Linked DNA regions of Homo sapiens: region 1 is linked to region 2. The links are contacts of gene promoters, found by promoter capture Hi-C in human tissues and cell types (Jung and others, 2019). All regions are on one chromosome and are shown on one strand. The core of a region is centred on a gene start or on the middle of the fragment in contact, and the rest is flanking DNA. Distances in the headings are between cores, read along the strand shown.

What was found. Contacts are between HindIII fragments. The study calls those that stand out against the background at their distance.
Region 1: a contact is called between a fragment that was not itself captured here and the fragment with the promoter of GHRH in region 2, in 1 of the 25 tissues and cell types used here (hippocampus).

Annotation. Positions count from the first base shown.
Region 1 is chr20:37,296,369-37,301,909 of GRCh38, reverse strand. It overlaps MANBAL (mannosidase beta like), which reads right to left. Exons shown (of 3, transcript NM_001003897.2): 2 at 497-702. The coding sequence starts at 646. Among named protein-coding and RNA genes, the nearest start is that of MANBAL, 9.5 kb to the right of the region's middle. The HindIII fragment of the contact is 4,244 bases long and covers 1,844-5,541 here.
Region 2 is chr20:37,259,420-37,264,791 of GRCh38, reverse strand. It overlaps GHRH (growth hormone releasing hormone), which reads left to right and starts at 2,978. Exons shown (of 5, transcript NM_021081.6): 1 at 2,978-3,049. The HindIII fragment of the contact is 8,848 bases long and covers 1-5,172 here.

The sequences.
Region 1 (5,541 bases), core at 2,716-5,215, 36 kb before region 2:
GCACGTGCAGTGCCCTCTCCCTGGAATGTTGTCCTCGCCCCTTGCCCACTTTCACCTGGCAGAAGCCTGCTCATTCCTTCAGTCTCAGCTCAAACACTGCCTCCTCGGCAGGGCCCACAGCCCAGGGTAAGATCAGGTCTCTCTCCCCCTTGTTATATAGCCTCACTGGACTCTGTACTTCTCATGGGAGCACATGGAGGTATGTTTTTGTTATCTGCCTTCCTCCCAAGGACTAGATGCTCCTCAGGTGCAGACACTACATCTTCAGCAGAGTCTGAAATGTAGTAGGCACTAAATAAAAATCTCCTTAATGGGTACATGAACAAATAAAGTATTAGCTATGTGGTTCAACCCACCAGGTGGAAATTCAGAGGCACACTAAATCAAAAAGGCCCAATGTAGACCCTGCTGATCTCAGTTGTGGTGGCACCTACTGTTAGTACTCAGAACCCAGCCTGGCACTCAGAGGAGCTGAGGCTCCCAGGGAAAAACTCACCGCCTCGTGGGACTTGGGAATGGGTACGATGATGGCCAGCACACAGATGAGCTGGAAGATGGCTCCCAGGAAGAGTCCGTACCGTAGCAGGTTCTCCAGGAAAGTGGGCTCGGGCACCTCCGGAGGTGAGAAGTCTAGGTCAGAGGCCATGGCCCAAGTCGCTTGCTGCCTGACGTCTCTTCTGACTCACCACTCTTTAGAACCAACTTGTAAATGCAAAGGGTCAGTGTCATATTTCTGTAACTGACATTTATTTATTTATTTATTTATTTATTTATGAGATGGAGTCTCACTCTGTCGCCCAGGCTGGAGTGCAATGGCATGATCACTGCAACTTCGGCCTCCTGGGTTCAAGTGATTCTCTTGCCTTGGCCTCCCGAGTAGCTGGGATTACAGGTGTGGGCCAACACACCTGGATGATTTTTGTATTTTTAGTAGAGACAGGGTTTCACCACGTTGGCCACGCTGGTCTTGAACTCCTGACCTCAGGTGATCTGCCCGCCTCAGCCTCCCAAAGTGCTGGGATTGCAGGTGTGAGCCACCTCACCCAGCCTGTAACTGACTTTTAACTTGAACACACACACACACACCCAAGAATATATACAGGAATTGTGAAATGTTAACAACTCTTGAATCTAAGTTGGGAACATATGGTCAGTCAATGAACCATTCTTTCAACTTTTCTGTGTATCTGATGTTTTCCAAACATAAAGTTGAGAAAAATAAATAAATGCAAAGGGAAGCACTTCAACAAAAATCTCAAATCAACATACATTTACTAAAGGCTGCTACGTTTCAGGTTTTGTTGTTTATTTATTCATGTAGTCATCCATTCAACAAATATTTCTTGAATACCAAGCACTGAAGAATGAGCAAAACAGACAAACCCCTGCTTTCTTGGAGCCTCTACATGCTCAGGATGGAAGCAGACAATGAACACGTCGAGATGTGATATGCCAGGTAGTGATAAGCATTTTGGAAAAAACTTAAGGGCATCATTTTATTTTGTGATGAGAAGGCTCTCTCTGAAGAACAGAGACGGGAATGGAGTGGAAGAGATAAGAAGTGAGAGAGGGAGCCATTTGTGTATCTGAGGGAAACACGTTCCAGGCAGGGAAAAAAGCAAGTGTGGAGGCCCCAGGGTGGGGAAATGAGGCCAGTACAGGCAGAGAAGTGATCAGGAGGGAGGGTGGAAGGAGGTATGATCAGAGAGGAGTGGGGGCGGACCCTGATACCTCCAATTTGATTGAGTAAAATGTAAAGCCACTGAAGGGTTTTGAGCAGAAAAGTGACATGATCTGACTTCCATTTTTAAATGGAGGAGGGACAACAAGGGGAGAGGCAAAGTGGACACAGGGAGAGCCAGGAGGAGGCCCCTGCCAATAAGCCAGACAAGAGCTGCTGATGGCGTGAATGACAGGGGCAGTGGTGGCCAGTGGTGCAAGGTCCAGCCTCAGCCCAGCTCTCCAGCCTCTCCTCTCAGCAGGGCCCCCACTCCTAATATCCTAGTCAAGCTGAAAGAACTGCTGTGGTTCTCCAAGAGCACTGGGCTCTTTCAAAATCCTGGGCCTCTGCCCAAGCTGCATACTCTGCAAAGAATGTCCTTTCCCACTGTGACTGCTTGACAAAGCCCCCACTCTGCCTCTAAGGCTGAGCTCAAGTGTCATCTCCCCAACATGCCTCTCCTGTCACCCTCCTCTTCCCCTGGCATGACTGAACTGCTCCCCCTTTACCACAGCACCCATCAGTGGCTTTCTTCTGCCCATCCCAATGATAAAGGGGCAAATTTACTTTGGAACCAGGCCCACTTGAATCTAAAACCCTTTGTGTTTCCAGAGATCTGTGCCACAATGCAATATTTTGCTAAGTCTGAGCTATCCAATATGGTGGCCATGAGCCACACATGACTATTAAGACTTGAAACGCAGCTAGTTTGAATTGAGATGCTAATTACACACCCATTTTCAAAGACCTAGTATGAAAATAAGAATGTAATCTATCTCATTCATAATGTTTTCATATTGATTACATGCTGAAACGATTGCAGTGGCTCACGCCTATAATCTCAGCACTTTGGGAGGCCACGGTGGGCAGATCACTTGAGCTCAGGAGTTTGAGACCAGCCTGGACAACACAGCGAGACCCCATCTCTACAAAAAAAATAATAAATTAGGCAGGAGTGGTGGCTCACTCCTGTATTCCCAGCTACTCGAGAGGCTGAGGTGGGAGGATCACTTGAGCCCAGGAGCTTAAGGCAGTGAGCCACGATCACGCCACTGCACTCCAGCCTGGGTGACAGAGCGAGACCCTGCCCCCACCCGACCCTGCCCCCACCCCACCCTGCCACCAAAAAATACACGTAAAAAATAATTGGCTGGGCATGGTGGGTTACGCCCAAAGTGTAAGCCCAACACTTTGACAGGCCAAGGCAGAAGCATCACTTGAACCCAGGAGTTTGAAACCAGCCTGGGCAACAGAGTGGGACCCTGTTGCTATAAAAAATTTAAAAATTAGCCGGACATGGTGGTACACACCTGTAGTCCCAGCTACTCAGAAGGCTGAGGCAGGAGAATTGCTCCAGCTGGGAGGTCTAGGCTGCAGTGAGCCAATGAGTCGTGATTGCGCCACCCTGAGTGACGGGGTGAGAGATCCTGTTTAAAAAAAAAAAAAAATTGAATTGAAAGCAAGGACTCAAGATACTAATGTTCATAGCAGCATTATTCACAATAGCCAAAAGATGGAAACAACTAAGAGTCCATAAACAGATGAATGGATAAGCAAAACGTAGTATATACATACAATGGAGTATTACTCAGCCATAAAGGAAATGAAATTCTGATACATGCTACAACATGAATGAACCTTGAAAACATTATGAGCTTTGAATAAATATATATGAAATAAGCTAGACACAAAAGGACAAATATTGTATGAGTCCCCTTATATGAGGTACCTGGAATAGGCAAATTCAGAGACAGAAAGTAGAATTGAGGTTACCAAGGGCTGGAGGGAAGGGAAATGGGGAGATATTGTTTACTGGGTACAGAGTTTCAGTTTGCAAAGATGAAAAAGTTCTAGAAATAGACAGTGATGACGGTTATACAACACTGCAAATACCACTGAATTGTAAACTTAACAATGGTTAAAATGGTAAATTTGTTACATATATTTTGTCACAATTTTTTAAAAATCTGTTTCTTTTTACCCATTTATTTATTTATTTATTTAGAGACAGGGTCTCACTCTGTCACCCAGGCTGGAGTACAATGGCACAAACATAACTCACTGTAGCCTCAAACTCTTATGCTCAAGTGATCCTCCTGCCTCAGCCTCCCAAAGTGTTGAGATTACAGGCATCATCCCTTTTTGCTTTTTAAATGTGGCTACTGGAAAATGTAAAATTATACATAGTCTGTATTATATTTCTGTGGGGAAGCCCTGGGGTAGAGACAATCCTAAAGACCTGCCTCACAGGGCGCAGTGGCTCACGCCTGTAATCCCAGCACTTTGGGAGGCTGAGGTGGGCAGATCACCTGAGGTCAGGAGTTTGAGACCAGCCTGACCAACATGGAGAAACCCCGTCTCTAATAAAAATACAAAAAAATTAGCCGGACATGGTGGCAGGTGCCTGTAATCCCAGCTACTTGGGAGGCTGAGGCAAGAGAATCGCTTGAACTCGGGAGACGGAGGTTGCAGTGGGCCGAGATCACGCCACTGCACTCCAGCCTGGGCAACAAGAGTGAAACTCCATCTCAAAAAAAAAAAAAGGCCTGCCGCCACCTTGGCTCTGCTGCTTCACTGCTTTGCACCATGTTTCCAACATGAAGTAACCGAAGAATAATAAAAACAACCTTCGTAAGTAAACAGAGCCGGACTTACACACGAGTATTGCTTCCCTTTCAGCCTGGTCACTTCAGAAGGTCATGTGCCTGGGGCAACAGGATGGCCACTTTTCACATCAGCTCTGTCTACCATGGGAATGGCCTTCAAAGCTTGAGGCTCTTTTTCTTCCCAGCCAGAATCCTCAGAGCTGGCAGATCTTCATCCTCCCAGGAAGGATTTGACTTCTGGAAAGAGCCCAACATCATCTGGTTCCAAGTGCAGTGAATCAGGTGGCACTGAGCTCAGGAATACCATTTTTGGTCAAATACAAGGTATGATGCTCAGACTCCAAGCAGATTACTTGGGGTGGCTCATAAACTGGCCCTGAAGTGAATTCCAAGGCGGCTGCAAGAACAGCTTCACTGGAAGAAATGTAACAGCCTCTACCAGCACCACCACCATGTGAATACCAAAGCTTAAGAACGCGTCCTCATTTCTCCGCAGTTGCACCTCATAAAGTGTGCATTTTTTAAAACGCCCTTGGCCCCAAGCTTTTTGCTTAAGGCTGTAACAAGCTTTATGAGCTTATAAATACTCAGATTTACTAGTGTTACTACTAACAGCAACATTGTGATAAGAAATATTTGGAGTGGTACAATAGAAAGATAGGGCAAGAGTTGGGAAGCAGAGGACAAAAGCCCCTGCTCTATCTGCAAGTAGCTACACTTTGGGCTAATAATCTCTTGACCTCTGGAGACGGGATGTTCTCATGAGCCAAGCAACAATGATACCTATAATACATTTAGGCCTTTTTTTAAAAAATGGCAATTAGACAAAATATAACAAGAGCCATAAAAGTGATTATATCCTTTGACTGAATAACTTACTTCCTAGAATTTATAGTAAGGAAACAATTCAAAAGAAGAAAAAGCCTTCAGGTACAAAAAAGTTCATGGCAGCACTATTCATAATACTGAAAAACAGGAAGCAACCCAGGCGTCCAACAATCAGGAAGCAGTTAACCCAGTGATGGTACATCATGGCATAATCCCTCTTCACTAACCCGGCAAATATAAACATTGTGTATCAGGTCAGTGGAAAGTCTTTGCAAAGTAACAGTAATTGAAAAAAATAAGCAATTGTATAAACACTATGATTGGAACCATCTATAAGCTGATTTCATGGGCTAAAGATCAAAAGATGCTACAGAAACATAAATAGTT
Region 2 (5,372 bases), core at 1,729-4,228:
GGCGTGCAACTGCAGTCCCAGCTACTCAGGAGGCTGAGGTTGGGGACTGCTTGAGCCTAGGAGGTCAAGGCTGCAGTGAGCTGAGATCTCACCACTACACTCTAGCCTGAGCGAGACCCTGTCTCCAAAAAATTAAGTAAATAAAATAATAATAATAATAATTAATTTAAAGCTATCAACCCATTTATTTTTATTTTTATTTTTATTTATTTATTTATTTTATTTATTTTTTTGAGACGGAGTCTCACTCTGTCACCCAGGCTGGAGTGCAGTGGCACCATCTTGGTTCACTGCAAGCTCCGCCTCCTGGGTCCTGAGCCATTCTTCTGCCTCAGCCTCCCGAGTAGCTGGGACCACAGGCACCCACCACCACGCCCGGCTAATTTTTTGTATTTTTAATAGAGACGGGATTTCACCATGTTAGCCAGAATGATCTCGATCTCCTGACCTCGTGAGCCGCCCGCCTCAGCCTCCCAAGGTGCTGGGATTACAGACGTGAACCACCACGCCCTGTTTTTATTTATTTTTTTTTTTGAGACAGAGTCTCACTCTGTTGTTCAAGCTGAAGTGCAGCGGCGCCATCTCGGCTCACACCAACCTCTGCCTCTGGGGCTTAAGCTATTCTTGTGCCTCAGCCTCCCCAGTAGCTGGGATTACAGGCACATGCCACTACACCCAGCTAATTTTTTTGTATTTTAGTAGAGACGGGGTTTCACCATGTTGCCCAGAGTGGTCACGAACTCCTGAGCTCAGGCAGTCCGCCTGCCTCGGCCTCCCAAAGTGCTGGGGTTACAGGCATGAGCCACCGCACCTGGCCACTATCAGCCCATTCTTAATCCTTGGGGATCTGGCCTGACCTGACCACTTCGTATCCTGGCCAGCAAGGTGACATACCACTCAAGCCTTGCTTCTATGAGAAACATCTCATATTTGCTAGATGCCAAGAACATGGCTCAGTGCAGGCTAAGAAGGAGAACCACAAAATAGTGTTGCTAAGGGGACTCTTGGAAATTACTGGCTTGTAATTGTGACCCATCGAGGTACCTCAGGGATAGGCAAGGGGGTCTCCACTTCCCCCTCTTCAACCAGAGTAGCCCCATATTAAAAACCTGTCTCTGTAGGTTTCCAAAGAAAGAGTTTTGCTACTTTTTAAAAAATGTTTGGGCTGGGTGTGGTGGCTCACACCTGTCATCCCAGTGCTTTGGGAGGCAGAAGCACGTGGATCACCTGAGGTCAGAAGTTTGAGACCAACCTGGCCAACATGGTGAAATCCCATCTCTACTAAAATACAAAACTTAGCCAGGCGTGGTGGTACGCACCTGTAATCCCAGCTACTCTGGAGGCTAAGGCAGGAGAATCATTTGAACCCGGGAGGTGGAGGTTGCAATGAGTCGAGATTATGCCACTGCACTCCAACCTGGGTGGCAAAGATAGGATCCCTCTCAAAAAAATAGTTTGAAAGTTGCTGTTCTATGTCAACTCTCAAGTTTCCAGGTAGAAACTGAGGCCCGGAGGGTAGAAGTTTTTTTTCTTTTTTTGAGACAGAGTCTCGCTCTGTCGCCCAGGCTGGAGTGCAGTGGCACGATCTCGGCTCACTGCAACCTCCACCTCCCGGGTTCAAGCAATTCTCCTGCCTCAGCCTCCTGAGTAGCTGGGATTACAGGTGCCCACTACCACACCCAGCTAATTTTTGTATTTTTAGTAGAGACGGGGTTTCACCATGTTGGTCAGGCTGGTCTCGAACCCCTGACCTCATGATCCACCCGCCTCAGCCTCCCAAAGTGCTGGGATTACAGGTGTGAGCCACTGCACCCAGCCAGGTAGAAGTAACTTCCTAAGGGTCACAGAGGTCATGATTGACAGGCTTGGGAGAGGCAGCAGGTCCCTAGACTCGAGGCTTGGAGCTCTTTCCACACCTCCACGACGGCCGCCTGGGAAACCAGAGCTTCTGCCTCCTGTGCTTTTATGTCATTCCTGAGGATTTCTTAGCTATAGGCTAGAGAAATCTGGAAACACAACAACTCTCCCAAGGTTTTCCATCTCTTCCCTCTCATTTCACACTTCTCTGAGGCAACTGCCAATGTCTGGCTGCCTTGACAGGTGACGACGGATGCCCCCAGGCTAGCTGTTGAAATCAGCCTGTGACCAAGCAGGTGTAAATCAAATAGTGCAGAATTCTGATAATTGGACGACAAGGGAGATAGGGAACAAATTCCCCACTAAGGAGAGAATAACGCTTATTCATAATGTTGTCTACCCAAAAGTGAAATAAAATTACACAGGGACAAAGCTAAATTATATGAACTTTTGAAAAGGCACATTTATCTTGGAGAATCAATAAACTCTTGGTGTTTCACTGTTATGAGTTCTCCAATTATTTTTAACACATATTTTTTCTTTTTTTAAAAAATATATATTTTGAGATAGAGTCGTGCTCTGTCACCCAGGCTGGAGTGCCATAGCGTGGTCTTGGCTCACTGCAACCTCCGCCTCCCAGGCTCAGGTGACACTCTTGCCTCAGCCACCTGAGTAGCTGGGACTATACCCATGTGCCAACATGCCCAGCTAATTTTTAATTTTTTTCTAGAGACAGGGTCTCATTATGTTGCCCAGGTTGGTCTCAAACTTCTGAGCTCAGGCAATCCACCCGCCTCAGCCTCCCAAAGTGCTAGGATGGCAGGTGTGAGCCACCGCGCCCAGCCGAGTTCTCCAATCACTATTATAGCAGTATATATTCTCTATATCCTCTTGGAATAATGTTACACCTTTGTACTATGTCCACTGTGCCAAAGATAAAAGGAGACTTTACCAGGAGTCTAAGTCTGCAAGGGGCCAAACCTCTTTCACCAACAGGGTTTGTCAGTGTGATATGATGCTAAAAACAGTCCTTTGGTTGACTTGTGGGTAATTGATTCTCTGACGCTGACAACGCTTAGGAAAATGAAGAGATAAATGATGGGAACGCCAGGCGGCTGCCAGAGCAAACACCCAGCCCAGGGCCCCTGGATTTGAGCAGTGCCTCGGAGCAGAGGGATATCTGCCGCATCAGGTGAGAGGGGTGGCCCTGGGGGGGCTAGGCTGGGTGGGGGTAAGAAAAGTTAACCTTCTCACCAACTTAGAAACACTGAGTCCAAGAGGCCCACCGCCATCCTCTTTGCCCATGGACTGGTGAGTACATTTGAGCCCCTCTCTGGATAAAATCACCCCTCAATAGGGGCTCTGGAATAGGCTTTTGATGGTGCTGTTTGGGGCTTGTCTTAACTTGGGCGCGTGGCGGACTGGCTCCAGGTGTCTGTCGCAGGTGGTGAGGTCTCAGTGCTCCTTCGAGGATGCGTGGGCAGGCTTCGGGGGCAAACGTGAGTTGGCTCGATTTTCCTGTCAGCGATGGGATTCTGCCATGGATCAGAGATGAGCCAAGTGGCTGTGCAAATCAATACTGCTCATTGATCACTCAGAACTGATTCAATGTAATTGCCGGGAAATTGATAACATTTTGCTTTCTTGCTCAATTGCAGCCACACTCTTTACTCCAGGTTTTAGACACAATTATCTGCCTTTGGAGTCCTCCGCTACCCCACGCCTGTCTCCTGATCCTTGCTTTAATGGTCCTGAAGTATTTGTGTCTTTCACCATAGACTGCCTCAAACCCCTTCTGGAAGGAGGTGGAGTGTCACTCTTTTGAATGACAGTTCAAGATGCTTCCTCATTAAAAACTTAGATTTCTTTTAACTTGGAATGCTGTCACTGAAACAGTTTATAAACCAGATCAGGAAGTCTATGCTTTGGGGTGCTCAAATTTCAAAGGGGGATATTCAAGGAAGGTTAAAGATGTTCTTTCCCTGGGTTTTCAAAAATGGCCTTGCGAATTTGGGTGCTTGAGACCTGACCTCTGTCAGCTGCAGGTGAATCTGCAGAATTCTCCTGGCATTCCTGGCATGAAAGCTGGCAAAAGGTGCCAACGGATGTAGATCAAGTGCCCGTTTATCCTGAATCCAGGCAATCTCAAGTACATCTAATCCCAGAATCAGTAAGCACTGCAGGAAGCTAACCGATGATCATAATGATAGATTATAAACTCTGGAGTGCCTTCAGTCATCAGGGTTGCCAGCAATGCTGTTGGGCTCGGCTACACTTCATTCAGTGAATTTTGACTCCTTAAGTTGTCATGTGGAATGTGTCTGTTGACAGCTATTTTATTTTATTCTTTGAGATGGGGTCTTGCTCTGACATTTAGGCTACTGTGCAGTGGCACTATCATGGATCACTGCAGCCTTAACCTCCCGGGCTCAAGCAATCCTCCCACATCAGCCTCCAGAGTAGCTGGGACTACAGGCATGCGCCACCATGCCTAGATAAGTTTTTTTTTGTTTTGTTTTGTGTGTTTTTTTTTTTGTAGAGATGGGGTCTCGCCATGTTGCTCAGGCTGGAGCTATTTTATCCTTAGTGACATAACCTCTATTCTTCTTATCTTACCCTACACTGGATAATTCTTGTTTCCCATTTTCATCCAGTGGGATCTGCAAACCCATGGATTCGGTTCTCATAGCTCAGAGGTTGCTGTGGGGTCTTGACCTATGCCTGGGGCACAGGATTTGTGGCAAATGTTGAGCCTCTTGGTTAACTTGTGCAGTTGCTGAGCCTTATCTTGAATGAGCGGGGTATTGTGTTTACTATGACTTGCCCTCCCCACCAAAGTCTGCCCTCCTATGAGGTTGTTTCAACTCCCTGAAACTACTGGGTGTGCATAGGGAGGGGCCAATCAAGCAGGTGTTCCTGTTTGTCCCTGTTCTTTCTTCCCCAGAGGCCCAACAACAAAGAGCAAGAAGCTTTCCTTTTTTTCAGACCCTTTCCCACGTGCAGGTGATGGAGGCTGAGGATCCCTGTGAATGGGGAATACTGTGAATAGAGCATTGTACCTGGGAGGCTGCTGCATGGAGCGGAAGGAAGTCTGCCGGCCTGGGAATGAGGAGGCCCACTCTGAAGTGCCCACTCCAAAACTAATTTGATGGAGGATCATGGAAAATGTCCTTGTCCTCTCTAGGCTCTTTTCCTTGGCTGTAAGAGGAGCATGGGGATGCCTGCTCCAGAGGGAGAGTGCAAGGATGGGTTGTGGAGCCTGATAGGGCACAGGGGCTGGGAATCACTTGTGCCAGCCCTTGGGAGAAGGGGCAGGCAGAGGGAGAGCTTAAGCCAAGAGAAGGGGTTTGAGCTTTATTCTGGAAGGAGTGGGGAGCCAAGGGCTTCTGAGCAGGGGAGGGAGGTGATTGGGGACCTAGATCTGCCTGAATCTTTAAAAGATCAGCAGCAAAGAAGGCAAGAAAGCCAGGCTGCAGCTGGGAGACAGAAAAGGCAGTGGTTTCTGTCAAGGGGCC